Linked DNA regions of Homo sapiens: region 1 is linked to region 2. The links are contacts of gene promoters, found by promoter capture Hi-C in blood cells and fetal thymus (Javierre and others, 2016). All regions are on one chromosome and are shown on one strand. Each heading gives the region's core, a stretch centred on a gene start or on the middle of the fragment in contact. The rest is flanking DNA. Distances are from core to core; before and after follow the strand shown.

Evidence for each region. Contacts are between HindIII fragments. The CHiCAGO score rates a contact against its expected background, and 5 or more counts as called.
Region 1: a fragment that was not itself captured here is called in contact with the fragment with the promoter of CRNKL1 in region 2 in 1 of 17 cell types (activated CD4 T cells); the score reaches 5.8 in activated CD4 T cells.

The regions. Positions count from the first base shown.
Region 1 is chr20:21,102,468-21,108,502 of GRCh38, forward strand. It overlaps LINC00237 (long intergenic non-protein coding RNA 237), which reads right to left and starts at 3,891. Exons shown (of 2, transcript NR_190203.1): 1 at 3,804-3,891. RefSeq lists an enhancer at 715-764. The HindIII fragment of the contact is 3,136 bases long and covers 2,547-5,682 here.
Region 2 is chr20:20,048,927-20,055,979 of GRCh38, forward strand. CRNKL1 (crooked neck pre-mRNA splicing factor 1) reads right to left here and starts at 3,540. Exons shown (of 14, transcript NM_001278628.2): 1 at 3,366-3,540; 2 at 1,544-1,696; 3 at 414-505. The coding sequence starts at 3,416. CFAP61 (cilia and flagella associated protein 61) reads left to right here and starts at 3,606. Exons shown (of 27, transcript NM_015585.4): 1 at 3,606-3,665. RefSeq lists enhancers at 3,395-3,564, 3,575-3,874 and a silencer at 3,965-4,014. The HindIII fragment of the contact is 2,238 bases long and covers 3,497-5,734 here.

The DNA of each region.
Region 1 (6,035 bases), core at 2,865-5,364, 1.1 Mb after region 2:
CAGGACCCACTAAGAGGGCCTTTCCAGCTCATGCCCGGAACAGGGGTGCAGCGGCGACCCTCTGGGATCTGGAGAGAGAGAATTTAACACGGCCTTCCTGAAGTACATTCACGCAAATGTGAGAAAGACTTCAACGCACAGAATCGCCAAAGCCCTTGCCGTCTTAAATAAATCCTGCCCCTTGGCACAGAAGAACGGAGAACCAAGGAGTTAATTCCTATTTTATAAGAAAAAAAAAAAAAAAAAGGAGGGGGAGAGAGGAAGGGAGTGGATGGCCCCCACTGAGCGGAACAATTGTCACTCAGTTGAACAGTGTCAATTAACAAACCGCAGCTCTGGCAGACTTCAAAAGGCTTGATTCTTTTTGAAATGTCTGTGGTGATGGGTGTGCAGCGAACCCCAGCTCGCCGGTGGCCGCTCACCCCGCTCGCCTCTCTCTCCCTCTGGACTCGGTGCTGAAGCCCCAGTGCAGCTCGCTCCTCCTTCTGTCAGCAGCTGGACCCGGAAGCCCTGACTCCCGGCTTGGCGCCTGTGCTGAGAGCGGAGAAGGACGTCGCGACCGGCAGGCCTGGAGGGCGCATTGGTGTGCAGAGTGTAGCGGCTGGTCTGGCCCTGGGAACCCCAGACCCGCGAAGCTGGAGGGCGCACTCCCCGGCCTCAGAGCCCCAAACCGGAGGCGCTGTCCAAACGCGCCAACGCTGCAAGCAATGTGGCAGGGCACACCGAAATGCGTGTCTCGCACACCTGCCCATCTTTCCCTGCTCAACACGAAAGCGCCTTGTGGCTCTAAGCGCTTCCTTGGGGTGGCTGGGGCTGTGCATTTTAATTCCAAAGTCAAGAGGTTGAACCATCTCAAAGTTGGCGGGTGGAGGGGGCGGTGGCAGGGAACTAGATGGCTGGATGCCTTTGCCTGCGGGGTGGCAGGGCTGTCCCTACCAATAGCCACGGCTCGGGGCTGGCTTTGTAGTTATTTTTCCAAGTTCTGCCCGGTGCCCATCATATTGCCCTGAAAAGCAAAAGAGGCCGATGCAATTTATTCCAATGGGCGGTTTTTAAGAAGCTGGCAATTTGAACCGGCTGGGTGTTATTTAGTGCAATATGAAATCAAATGATCCTATTTCTCAAATAACAGTGTCTGTGAGGAGAAGTGAATCCTCTGAAAGGGTAATTGTCTGCTGATGGTGTTTCCCATTATACCCGATCTTGGCCTAAATGGTGTTCGGCAGCGGGGCGGAGAGCGAGGGGTGAAATCAATGTGCGCCAACTCGCGCTCTGGAGACAGGAAAAGGTAGCACCGCTGGCGTCCTGGCACGTCGAGCGAACAATGCCACCCCACGCGTCACTGATCGACTCATCTTGCAGGTGTCCGAAATCATTAGACTTGAGTGATCTTGTGGACGGGGGTATAAGACTAACTGTTTTTCCTTTCGCAACTTTGGGAATTGTTAGTCTCCTGGCATCAGTCACGCAGCAGACTGACGATAATCTGGGAAATACAACCCAGTTTGGAGTCCCTTATCCCACCCCCTCCCCACCTCCATGTCATTACTGAGACGCTCAGTCCTTTCTTCCAAGGACTCACTTCTGTCTAGGACCTTCCCAGTCCAGCTTCTGGAAAACAAATGTAATTCCTGGGAAATATAATGCGTCCACCAGGCGCACACTATTAATGCTGTAATTAGGTGTGGTACCTTTGGGAGAAACAGGTTAGTCCTGGGCTTTTAAATTGTTCTCCTTGGGCCCAGCCACTATTTTTGGTGGCACCAGATATAAGGGGGTCAGTTTGTGTCTGAGAGCAGCACAGATGAGGAGCAAATTTAAGGAATGATTTTCATAACAAGGACAAAAGCGGCATGCGGGAACCAGAGCGTTGGCCTTTGGTCAGGTCAGTACCCCGAGGTGGAGCGTCAGCAGTAATATCAGAGGCTGCTTCTCCTTAAAATGACTCCGGCTGCAGAGGCGGCCGCAAGCAACAGCCTTGTCCATAAATCCTCTTTAGTTACCACTAACTCACCTTGAGGGGAGTGGCCTCCTCTCAGGGCCTTTGGGCCAGGACAGAGAGGTGCGGCCCCTGGAGAAAGATGCAACCAGGTCTGCAGCCGCTGGGGGCCCAGGACGCGGGGCAGCTTCGGAGCACTTCTCCTCTGCCCCCCACCCTCCAACCCCTGACTTACTGTTTTTTTTCCTAAGAAGGGTTTTGTGTGTTCCAAATATCCTGGAATTGCAGTCACAACCTACATCCTCTGCTAATTTGGGGCATTTCAGGCTGAGCCTCCTAGAACCAATTTGTGGCTTGTTTCTGCTCTAGCTAGGCAGGTTTTGTTTACATATTCTCTCTGGGTGTTTTGAGAGGACACACACAGACAGACACACAGACACACAGGCGCGTACACACACACTCATATATTTTTTCTATACTGTGACCTCTGTTTACAAGCCCATTTGGTTGTTCATGATTTTCCCCTTCCTTGGTGTTACCTCCAAATATCTGGAGAAGCTGGGAGAGAAATGGTCATGGCTGCATATCCAAGGAGCCCAACCTAGGAAGCTTCCATCTTTGTCTAGGAGGAAGGTTCGGCCACTGCACCTGGAGCCCGAAGCACCGGACACCAGGCGCGCCGTTCTGGCGCTCTGCAGGGCCTCTCTGGGTGAAGGAAAGCGGGCAGCCTGGGTTCAGCCCACCGGGTCCCCTTTCGAATGCCATTTCCCAGCTGAAAATCCAGCCAGCACAGCCTGGACGCCGAGCCCTCTGGAGCCCTGGTCAGGACGCTTTAATTTTCACCCTCCCGCTCTGGGTCTGAACAACCCCCCCGTCCCCCGCCCCCCACCCCAAGGTGTTGTTTCCTAGGGTCTTCTGGGGACATCCCTACCTGTCGAGGGCCTGCCCTCCTCGGGCTAAAAGTTCAGCCCTTCGACAGAGCCATGGAATAAGAGGCGACTCTCCCTGTGTCCCGCAAGTGGTTTCTCGAGGTACCCCTCTGAGGCTGCAGCCCCCGGAGCAGACCTGGCTCTGCATAGCAGCAAAAGCAACCGCCTACCTGGGCCGGGGCAGGACTGTGCCGCGGCGGCAGGGACAGTGTGAGCGCCGCCGGCCCCCTCACCCGGCGAGGGCCCTGCGCTCACACTTCTTCCAGGGGAAGGAGTGGCCACGCCTGAGCCCCCCTAAACGACCTCTTCAGGAGAAAAGAGTGCCGGCCAGGAGTCCCTCCAGTAACCTCAGTTTAGATCGGGTTTTCGCGCCTCCCCTAGGAATCCGGCTGGAAACCCCGGAGACTCTGCGCCTAGAGTTTTGCGGGCGTCTCTCTGCCTCCCCGCAGCTTCCGGCTCTCGCAGGCTTCATCCACTCCCTCTTCCCCCGGACCTGCCTGAACCCCGCCGAGCACTAGGCAAGGCCGGGCTCTGCGGGCTGGGGAAAAGAAGGGGCTTGGGGTGGCCCAACCCGACCGCCACCTCGGCCCGGCCTGCGGGGAAACCCCACAAAGTCAAGGCGCGGGGCGGGGTCGGGGGGATGGGATCCAGAGAGAGACTCAGAGGGGCGCCCCTTCCCCCCAGGGGTCTCCGAATCCTAGGGACTCTCTAAGCCCCCGTGGCAGAGAAAAGAGGAATTTTTAAAAACAAATCTTCCCTTGCCTGAGGCCATTTTCCAGCCTTCCACGCGCCTTTGCCGGGGAAAGAGTCGATGACTCGCCCTGCTCATCGGCTCAGACCAGAGCTACCCTGAGCCCACACCTCTCCTCCTCTCTGCAAGACATCCCTTCCGCCACCCCCAGTCCCGCCGTCCTCCCCTCTCCAGACCCACTGACCTTGGGAAGGCGCAGACCCACCGCTCGCCAAGCCTCGCCCCGCACTGTGCACGGGAAGAGGGGGCTCCGCGCGCAGCCCAGTCCGGTTAGCTGGTCGGCGTCGGCGGGGCTGCCGAGGTGGCGCAGAGCTCCCCTCCCCCACGCCTTATAATTTAATCACACGCGATATTAAATTATCAAGCTGCTCATTAATCATCACGCGAGTTATTGGGACTGAACACGCCGCCGCGTGTTTTGACAGCCCAGAACCATTCGCGGGGGTCGGGGTGTGTCTGGGTTTGGGGGCTGGGGGATGTCTAGCCACTCTAGAGAAACACTGCGAGCCCCACGCGGGCTGGTGGAGCCTCTTGCCTGGAAAAAGATGTGGAAACGCGCAGGCTGGGCGTCAGAGTTTGGTTGAGGGTCTGTCAAAAGCCCAAACGTAACCCTCCCAGGCCACTTTCCTTAATATTTGGATTTTGATCACGATGATTAAGACAGCCGGTGATGTGTAATCAACAGCATCTTAATTTGCAGTTTTTCAGGAGGGTGAATTTGACCTGACTCTGAGCATCTTCATTGCCCAGTGTGGACGGTGTGAAGTTAATGCGGTTGAAATACAGAGGGAATCAGATCACCGATGTCATTTCAAAGAATAACTTTTCCCTGATTCAAAGGGTCTCTCTTGCCTTTCACATACTACAAATGTGGAGAGAGAGACATAAAGAGTTTTAAAAATTAAATTCTTAATTTGGGGTATTCATTTTTAAAATGATTTACGCGTTTCGCCCTGGAGTGGTTAGAACCTGGTTTTATTTTCTAGGGTTTTATTTTTCCTTTTCTCTATTTCAATTAAAGGAATCTCTTTAAATGAATAAACCAATTAAATGAAACTTCTTATGATTTCATTCCATACAATAGAAGAAACAAATGATCATTAAAAGTTGTCTTAGTGTTACAAAGGAGAGTAATTAATTCTCAGCATTCACACCAGCAAAACGATAAACAAGAGGGAAAACATCCCCCAACTCTGGAAGAGGTGGTGTAGATGTGAATCTGCAAACCAACTTAAAAATATATATACCTAGTTTGAAATTAGTCTTTGGAAGAAATGTAATTCCCAAATTAAGTCTTTTGCCACCTTAGCATAAACCAAGGCTAGTTTTTAGCGGAAGACCAGTTCCTCTGGGCAAGAGCTGTGAATTTCAATAAGTTGGCAAGCCAAGTTTTCTACACAAATCAGAGATTAAATCAAGTTGTTTTCCCTTTTTAAAATATAAAGTATAAACAAATACCAAACTGGGGCATGTTCCAAATCCTCTGCAGCTAAATTGCATTTAACTTTTCCACCAGAAAATGTGATCAATTTAGTAAGCCAATAAGTACATAAATACTACCCCCGCTTATGTTTTATCGCAGAATATCATTGATAATATTAAATGTGTCCAAGACCGCTCATGAGTTATTTTCTCTTCTGTTAATCTGTTGTCTGCATTTTTCTACTCTGTCCACTAACACACAAAGAGATGGGTATCAAAACTCAACACACACACATACTGCTAGGTGAAATTCATACATCCTAAAGAAGCTAGTGCAGAGGGGGAAATGCCATAATATGGATGTGATATTTTTTCATAAGCCAACGGTGAAAAATATATTGACTATCTTTATCCAGGCAGTTCATGCCTACGTATGCTCTGCAGTGACAAGGACATTTGTTGTCAGGGACTGAGAGATGGCTTTCAATGCCAGGAGCTTTTTCTGGTAAAAGTGGGCCATTGGCTAAAAAATTGTATCTGAAGACTTTGTTTTAAAACTGGAGATTTTGAACATAACCTGAATTATCCAGACAACATGGTTTGGTGAACTTGGCAATCGTGTACTTCAAGATTACATGAGAAGCTTTTGAAAAAAATTAAAACATAAGGTTTTATTGAGTAGAGTCACCAAAAATGGGAAAAAATAATTCCTTTCACTCATTTGCCTATTTTCTTCATTGTACTGTTTTTGCATGATCACCCATTTGATGCTCACTGAAATGCTAAAAGTGTGAATTCGAGATGAGAATTTATCTCCACTCCTGAGGCTCAAGTTATGGAACTTGTTCACCACTAGAGCAAAAGCAAGAACCCACATTTCCTGACTCCTAGTCCAGTCCTCTCTCCAAATAATAGCTAACACAAACATTTAATTTGTTCTTTTTCATAGGCCCTCCCTATCACTAAATAAGATTGAACACTTTAATTCTCTGAA
Region 2 (7,053 bases), core at 2,290-4,789:
ACACAGGCACAGTGGGGGAAGGAGGTATGCGGGGAGAATGCAGAAAGCTAGACCACAGGAAGGGCCAGATTGCAATTTTTATTTTTTTTGGCCATTGGTTTTATTTTTTTTGGCCATTGTTTAGCTGAAATTTGTAAAAATCTCAATATATACAAAGCAAATGAAATTGTGCTTCTTTAGCTACAACTGACAAGATCTATCTCTAAAGCCTCTTCTGCCACCCTCCCCAGGACTATTCTACCCCAGTACTCCTGAGGCCCTCAAGGGAACCCTAGGGTTCCATGGAACCAAAGTTGAAAATTTCTACCCGAGGCACAATCTTTTACCTGTGCTTTAACTTTTTCTTCTTTTCTTTTTGGTATCTGTTAATCTATGAATCATTATATACAAAACTACACTCTCAGTAATTTTACCTTTGAATCTCCTTTAGGCTTTCTTCCCATTGTGCGTATTTTATCCAGTTACTAATCACAGTCCTGTTTTTTCTTATATTATCTTCAAAAGTCTGGAAGAAGGCAAAAAGGGTCAAGTCAAAAGACAAATGACTAAAAATGACAGCACCCTTGGTCTATTTTAAGTCTTGTACTAAAATGGTTATTCATTTTGTTCATATTTAAGAGAAATTACATCCTGGAATCCTTGAGGAATAAGAAACCCACTACAGAAGGTTACAGTCAACTAACTGATACTTTAAAATGGTCTATGCTTGTCCCTAATAAAAAATGTTTTTGACTATTACCTTTAAGTCCTCTGGTAATTCTCAGAATTTCATATATAACAGCATTAGTGCTTTAAAACAGTCCCACATTCTAGAGTGAAGAGGTCAAATCAGATCCCAAAGTCTTCTCATGGTCCTTTTGCAGACCTCAATTCCTTTTCCTTTCTTTCTTTCTTTCTTTTTTTTTTTTTGAGACAAAGTCTTGCTCTGTCGCCCAGGCTGGAGTGCAGTGGCACGATCTCGGCTCACTGCAGCCTCTGCCTCCCGAGTTGCTGTGATTCTCATGTCTCAGCCTCCCGAATAGCTGGGATTACAGGCACCTGCCACCACGCCTGGCTAATTTTTGTATTTTAGTAGAGATGGGGTTTCACCATGTTGGCTAGGCTGGTCTCAAACTCCTGACCTCAGGTGATCTGCCCGCCTCGGCCTCCCAAAGTGTTGGGATTACAGGCGCGAGCCACTGTGCCCAGCCAGATCTCAATTCTTAACACAGAAGGTGGTATAGACAGAAGTACACAGTGCAGCCTTACTAAGCATACCCTCCTTCTTGTTGTCAGTTGTTCCATCTGCTAAACTTCCGCTCACTTTGATTCAGCATCAAAAATTATGCAGATTCAATTTCTTTACACTTTAACCAGACAACTCATGGCATATTTTATATAGTTCAGAAAAATGCTGTTATCTGGTAACCAGAAGTACATTATTCATGCGTCTGGAAACACTTAACCTCATCTTGCCCTACAGAATCCAACCAATGAGGAGCTTTTCAAACTGACCGATACAGTCTTAACAATTAGTGGACTGAAAGATACCACACTGACTGACCTTCCTTTTCCTTAGTTTATAATCATTTAATTCTTCTTCATCTGTGATCTTCTGTTGAGGTGGAGGTGGAAGAAGCTCAAGTTCTCTTTCTTTAGCCTCTCTTAAGAGTTGTTCAGCAGTTATCTGTACCTCAGCCGGGGCTTTGTTTTTCACCTTTTAAGAAAGAAGACATTTCTATTTTTAGTAGTTGCTCTTCACACAAGGCTTAAGAAACAAACATACATTTTTTAGGATATGAACTTTGTTAGTATTATCACAAGATGCCCTTTTTGTATGACATGTTCCCATTCCTCCATGAGACTGAAAAGAAAAAAAAAATACCGTTTTCTCTCTTATTCATAGTATCTACTGCAAAGCCATAGGTAAAAGTCTCAAGAGAAAAAGGTGGCAAAAATAATAGCAAGTTTTCCCTTTTAGATGAGTATAATAATAAACTTTGAGGCCGTCTAGGTAAAATTCTGACCAGAGGTTTTGTTTTATCAAAATGTGTAGCACATCTTATTAACAGCATTACAACCTGCATTTACAGAATTCTTCAACTTATTTAATGCCCCGGTGTATAACTGGGTTTGGTTTTACATGGCACTTCAAGTCAAAGGCAATTTCAGTAAGTTCTCATCATTAGACTGTAAGCTTCTTGAGGTCTTAGAAGCTTACAGTCTAACGTAGCTTAGAGCTGTGCTGTCCAACACAGTAGCTATGAGTCACATGTGGTGAGTACAAATTGAGGTGGACTGTAAGTGTAAAATACACATTGGTTTTGAAGATGAAGTATAAAAAAGAATAAACTACCTCATTACATTTTTTATACCGATTACATGTTGAAATGATAATATTTTGGATACATTAGCTCAAATAAAATATATATTATCAAAATTAATTTCACTTTTTTGCTTTGTTTTTACTTTTTAATGTAGATATGAGAAAATTTAAAATTTCATATGTGGTGTGCATTATATTTCCATTGGACCAGTGATGCCCAATAAAAGTTTATGTAGCTGAATTATAAAAAATGTTACTTAATGCCACATGTGGAGTAATGATGATAATGGTGATAGCTCATATTTAATAAGCACTAAGTGCCAGACACAGTGTTACTTGCTCTATATGCATTACTCCTGCGAGTCAGACAAATAGTTATGTAAAGGTCCAGTTCAAGAGAGTCATCCGGGCTCAAGAAAGACTGGAGGGAGGGTATCTGTAAAGGCTTCAAAGTCTGCCACATATTAAGCACTTGGTAAGTATTAGCTATCAAAGGAAATACCAGATAGTAAGTCTACTGTTTAATTAACTTATGATACTATACTACTCCTACCGTCTACTCTCGCCCTCCGCTGTCAGCTGGGCTAACTCCTATTCAGCCTTCAAGTCTCAGCTTAAAGGTCATTTCCTCAGCAAAATTTACTTTCAGGACCCCTTCATACGACCCCCTTATTCACGCCCATGGCATATTCTACTTTGCCTCTCGGTAACATCTAGCAAGGTCGTCTTTATACAGAAACTCGTGTTTTGAGTACTGCTTGTGGCCAGCGTACGAGCGTAGCTTCCCAGCGCCCAGTGCAGTGCCTGGCTCAGTAAATCTTCACCGAACCACCCCACTCCACTCCCCAGCAAAACCACCCCAGAACGAAGGCCACGCCAACGCGGGTCGTGCTCCGCGATGACAAGAGCCCGCGCCCCACCACCAGCTGCCCTTCCTCTCCATCTCTCAGGGTGAGCCTTCTCCCCGGCGGGAACACTCTCTCCCAACCCGGGCACCCTCAGGGCTGAGGGATGCCCCTTTCCTAGGCCACCTCCTACAAGGCCCCTCGCGATCGCCTACCTTGGCCACTTTGGGAATCCGCTGCTTCCCGGCCGCGGTGGAGGCCGCCATGTCTGCAGCAGTCGACCTCTGGACACCTGTCCCCGGCACGGACGCTAGAAATCGGCTCTGAGAGCTCACCGAAACCACAAAGCTTTCAGAAAACAAACAGGATCTCGGAACCGGAAGCGGAACTTGCAGGACTGACCTTTGACCTCTCGCTTGAGCCGTGACGGAGGCGGCACCGTTTCCATGGTGACCAGGCTGCGCGTCCTCCTTGCGGCAGCGCGTGGAGTGCGGCGTCCTGGAGCTGCGGATGAGGTGGGTAACGCCGTGCTGACTAGCAGCGACGCAAGGACTGCGGTGCAGGGCGTCCAGGGCGCATCCCCAGGTCAGCCTCCGGAACTGGGATGACCAGGCGAGGACGAGTGGCTCTGTCGAGCCGTGGCGCCCTGCAAGGGAGTAAGAACGGAGCTCCAATCTGGATGCTCGAGGGCGGGGGAAGAAGGGAGAGCGAGGAAACTACCATTCCCAGCATGCGACGGGGCGAGCTGCCGCCCTTTTAGGCTGCAATGCCTCGAGCATTGCATTCTAGTAGTCTCTGGGTCCACGCCCCCTCGTTTCTGGTTTCGGGACAGTTGTGCCCAAATAATTCTAAGGTGCCCAAATAATTAACTCTAAGGCTTGGAATTAAAAATAACAGAAGGTACTTTGAAGCCAGATATTAGGAAAAAATATAAATAGAGTAACTGGAAAACAACTCAGTCTTGTGATAAGAAACATGTTTAAATTCTGTGTGTGCCTTAATTACTCTAGTTAAATTTTCTTAGCCTCAATGTCCTCAACTATAAAACAAGGCTAATAACATCTGTTTCACTAGGATTAAAGACAAATGCTCAGTAGATGTTAGCTGTTATAATACTTAACCTGCCCTCAAAAACTGAAAAGCAAAGGTTAAGAGAATTTTTTTTAATAGACATTTTTAGAGAAGTTTTAGGTTCACAACAAAATTAAGTGGAAGACACAGAGATTTCCTCCCTCCACAGCTTCCTGCTATCAATTATTGTACCTCTTCCCTCCTCTAACAGCCTCCAACTCTTAAAAATATCCTCCACCAGAGCAGTACATTTGTTACAATCTTGAACCTACATTGACACATCATTATCACCCAAAGTTCATAGTTTATATTAGGGTTCACTCTTGGTGTACATTCTATGAGGTTGGACAAATGTATAATGACATGACTTGGCAGCTCATTTGTTAGGATAATTTCCACAGTTGCAAAGCTCTTTTGGTGTTTGGGGAAAATATATATTTATGTATGTAGTAATATCACGTCTACCAATGCAGATATTACTTTCAACAAAAGATTTATGCAGATTTCTAGAACTGCAGTCAGTTATAACCAACATCAATGTATTTGCCATAACTCTTTATTAACCATATTATTTAGATATTTTATCTCACTTTTCAAAATTTAAATAGAGAAGATTTTATATCACTTTCATAAAGCCACCTAACAAAATAAATAAATATTAAAAAGATGTTTCTTTGAAGTGATTTTCCTTAAATGTGTTACTGTAAACAATTGATTTACCAAATGAATCATTGGTTTAATCATCTGTTGCCTTTGCTCAAAAGTACAAACATGCTAGAATACTTTGCTTCTGATCACCATCCTTCTCTCTTACATTTCTGTTGTCTGGCAATTCAGTTCATCTCTGTGTGTGTTTTTTTTGTTTGTTTTTTTTTTTTTTTTTTTTTAGGAAAAATGTATTATCCTTCTTACTTTTTGCCATCAATGCTTTTGTAGATATACCTTCATGTTTACCTTCTTATTTCCCAGCATTTAATCTTGTATTCCACTTCTTTCTGATTTTATTCTTCTCAGAATATACCATCTCCTAGTTCTTTCTACAAGATTCTTTGAATTCTTTCAGTCTTTGTATGAAATTGTCTTTATTTTATCTTCATTTTAAAGTGATTGTTTAGGTTTATCAGTCTAGGTTAATGGTTATTTTTTCCTTTTATATTTTTAAAACACTATTCTAGTAGTTAGAAAACTATGGGCCGTAGACTAAATTCAGCCCATTGACTATTTTGTATGGACTGTGAATGAGCTAGGGATATATATATATATATATACACACACACATACATACACATATACACACACACATTTTACATTAAACTTTATATGTAGTTTACATTTTAAACATTTTTTAAAAATTACATGGCACATGAAAATTATACATAAGTCAACTTTCAGTGTATGTAAGTAAAATTTTGTGGGAATACATTCATGCTCATTTGTGCCGATATTGTCTCTGGTTGTTACTGTGCTACAATGGCAGAGTTGACTAGTTGTGTAGACAACATGTGGCTCATAAAGCTTAATGTATTTATTCTCTGGCCTTTTACAGAAGTTTGCTAACCCCCGTGCTACTGGCTTCTAATGTTGCTCATGAGAAATATTCTGTCAGTCTAATTATTTTTTATAGACAGTCTGTCTTTTGTCAGGTTCCTTTAAAGTTTTCTGTTTGTCTTTAGGGTTTTGTAGTTTTACTATATATTTGGAGTTTATTTGTATTTTTTGCTCTGAACTGAAGGTTCATGTCTTTCATCCATGCTAAAAGTAATTAGCCATTATTTTCAAATGTTTCATTTATTCCTTTTGGAATTCCCATAAGACAGATGTTTTTCATTCTGTCTTACATGTGTCTTTACTGAATTCTGTATTTTCTGTTTCTATGTGCTTCTTTCTAGATAATTTGTTCATAAGTATCTTCCAGTTTATTTTCTTTATTCTTCTGTTTTTAACCCATCCTCTTAGTTTAAATTTTAATAACCACGTATTTCATTTTTTAAGTTTCTGTTCTTTTTTAAATAATGACCTGTTCTCTTCTCATGACTTTTGTTTCTCTTTCTATATTTCTTTATTATAAACATACTTAGTTTGTAGTCTGTTTCAGAGTCTATCATCTAAAGTTCTTGGTGACTCCCATAATACACAGATTGTGTGGACTAGAATGCCATACCCACTTTAGTCTAGAATTTGGACTTCTCAGCAGTATTTTTGCTTTATTTTCTACCTAGAGCTTTGTGTAGAGAAAGCTTGTCACTTTCTTGGGCTGGTGAGTTTAATTTTTCTAGCCCCCTCACTTACCGAGGGGCCCATCCAAAGTCCCAGGTAGATGCATGGTTTAATTTTTAATTCTCTGTTTGGAGTGAGGTCCATTCTATCCCCAAAACCTGTGTCAGATCGGCTCACATCATTGCCACCTGGTTGGAGAATTTCCCTCGCTCGCTTTCTTTCTTCTTTTCTTGTTTTCTTTTTACCAAAGTCAGTTATCTAATTAATTATACTTCCTTATTTTATTCAGAATTTTTATATACTTGTAGCATTAGTTTATGATATGTTTCACAAACAAGATGTCTCATTCCAATTTTGCTTTCAATTTAAAACCAGAACAAGGAATGACAATATTTATGGTTAGCTTCGATAGGAGTCTAGACATTATTAATTTCTCCTTCATTGTTTTCCCTGTTTTGAGCTCACTGGCTAGTATATAATAAAATGGCTTTCCCTATGAAGGAAAGAAGGGAGGGAAAGAGAGAAGAGAGACTTACAGAAATTGAGACAATGAGAGAGAAATTGAAATCATTTTGTGACCTACTGTTTTTGTCAACAGCATTTCCCAAAGTGTCC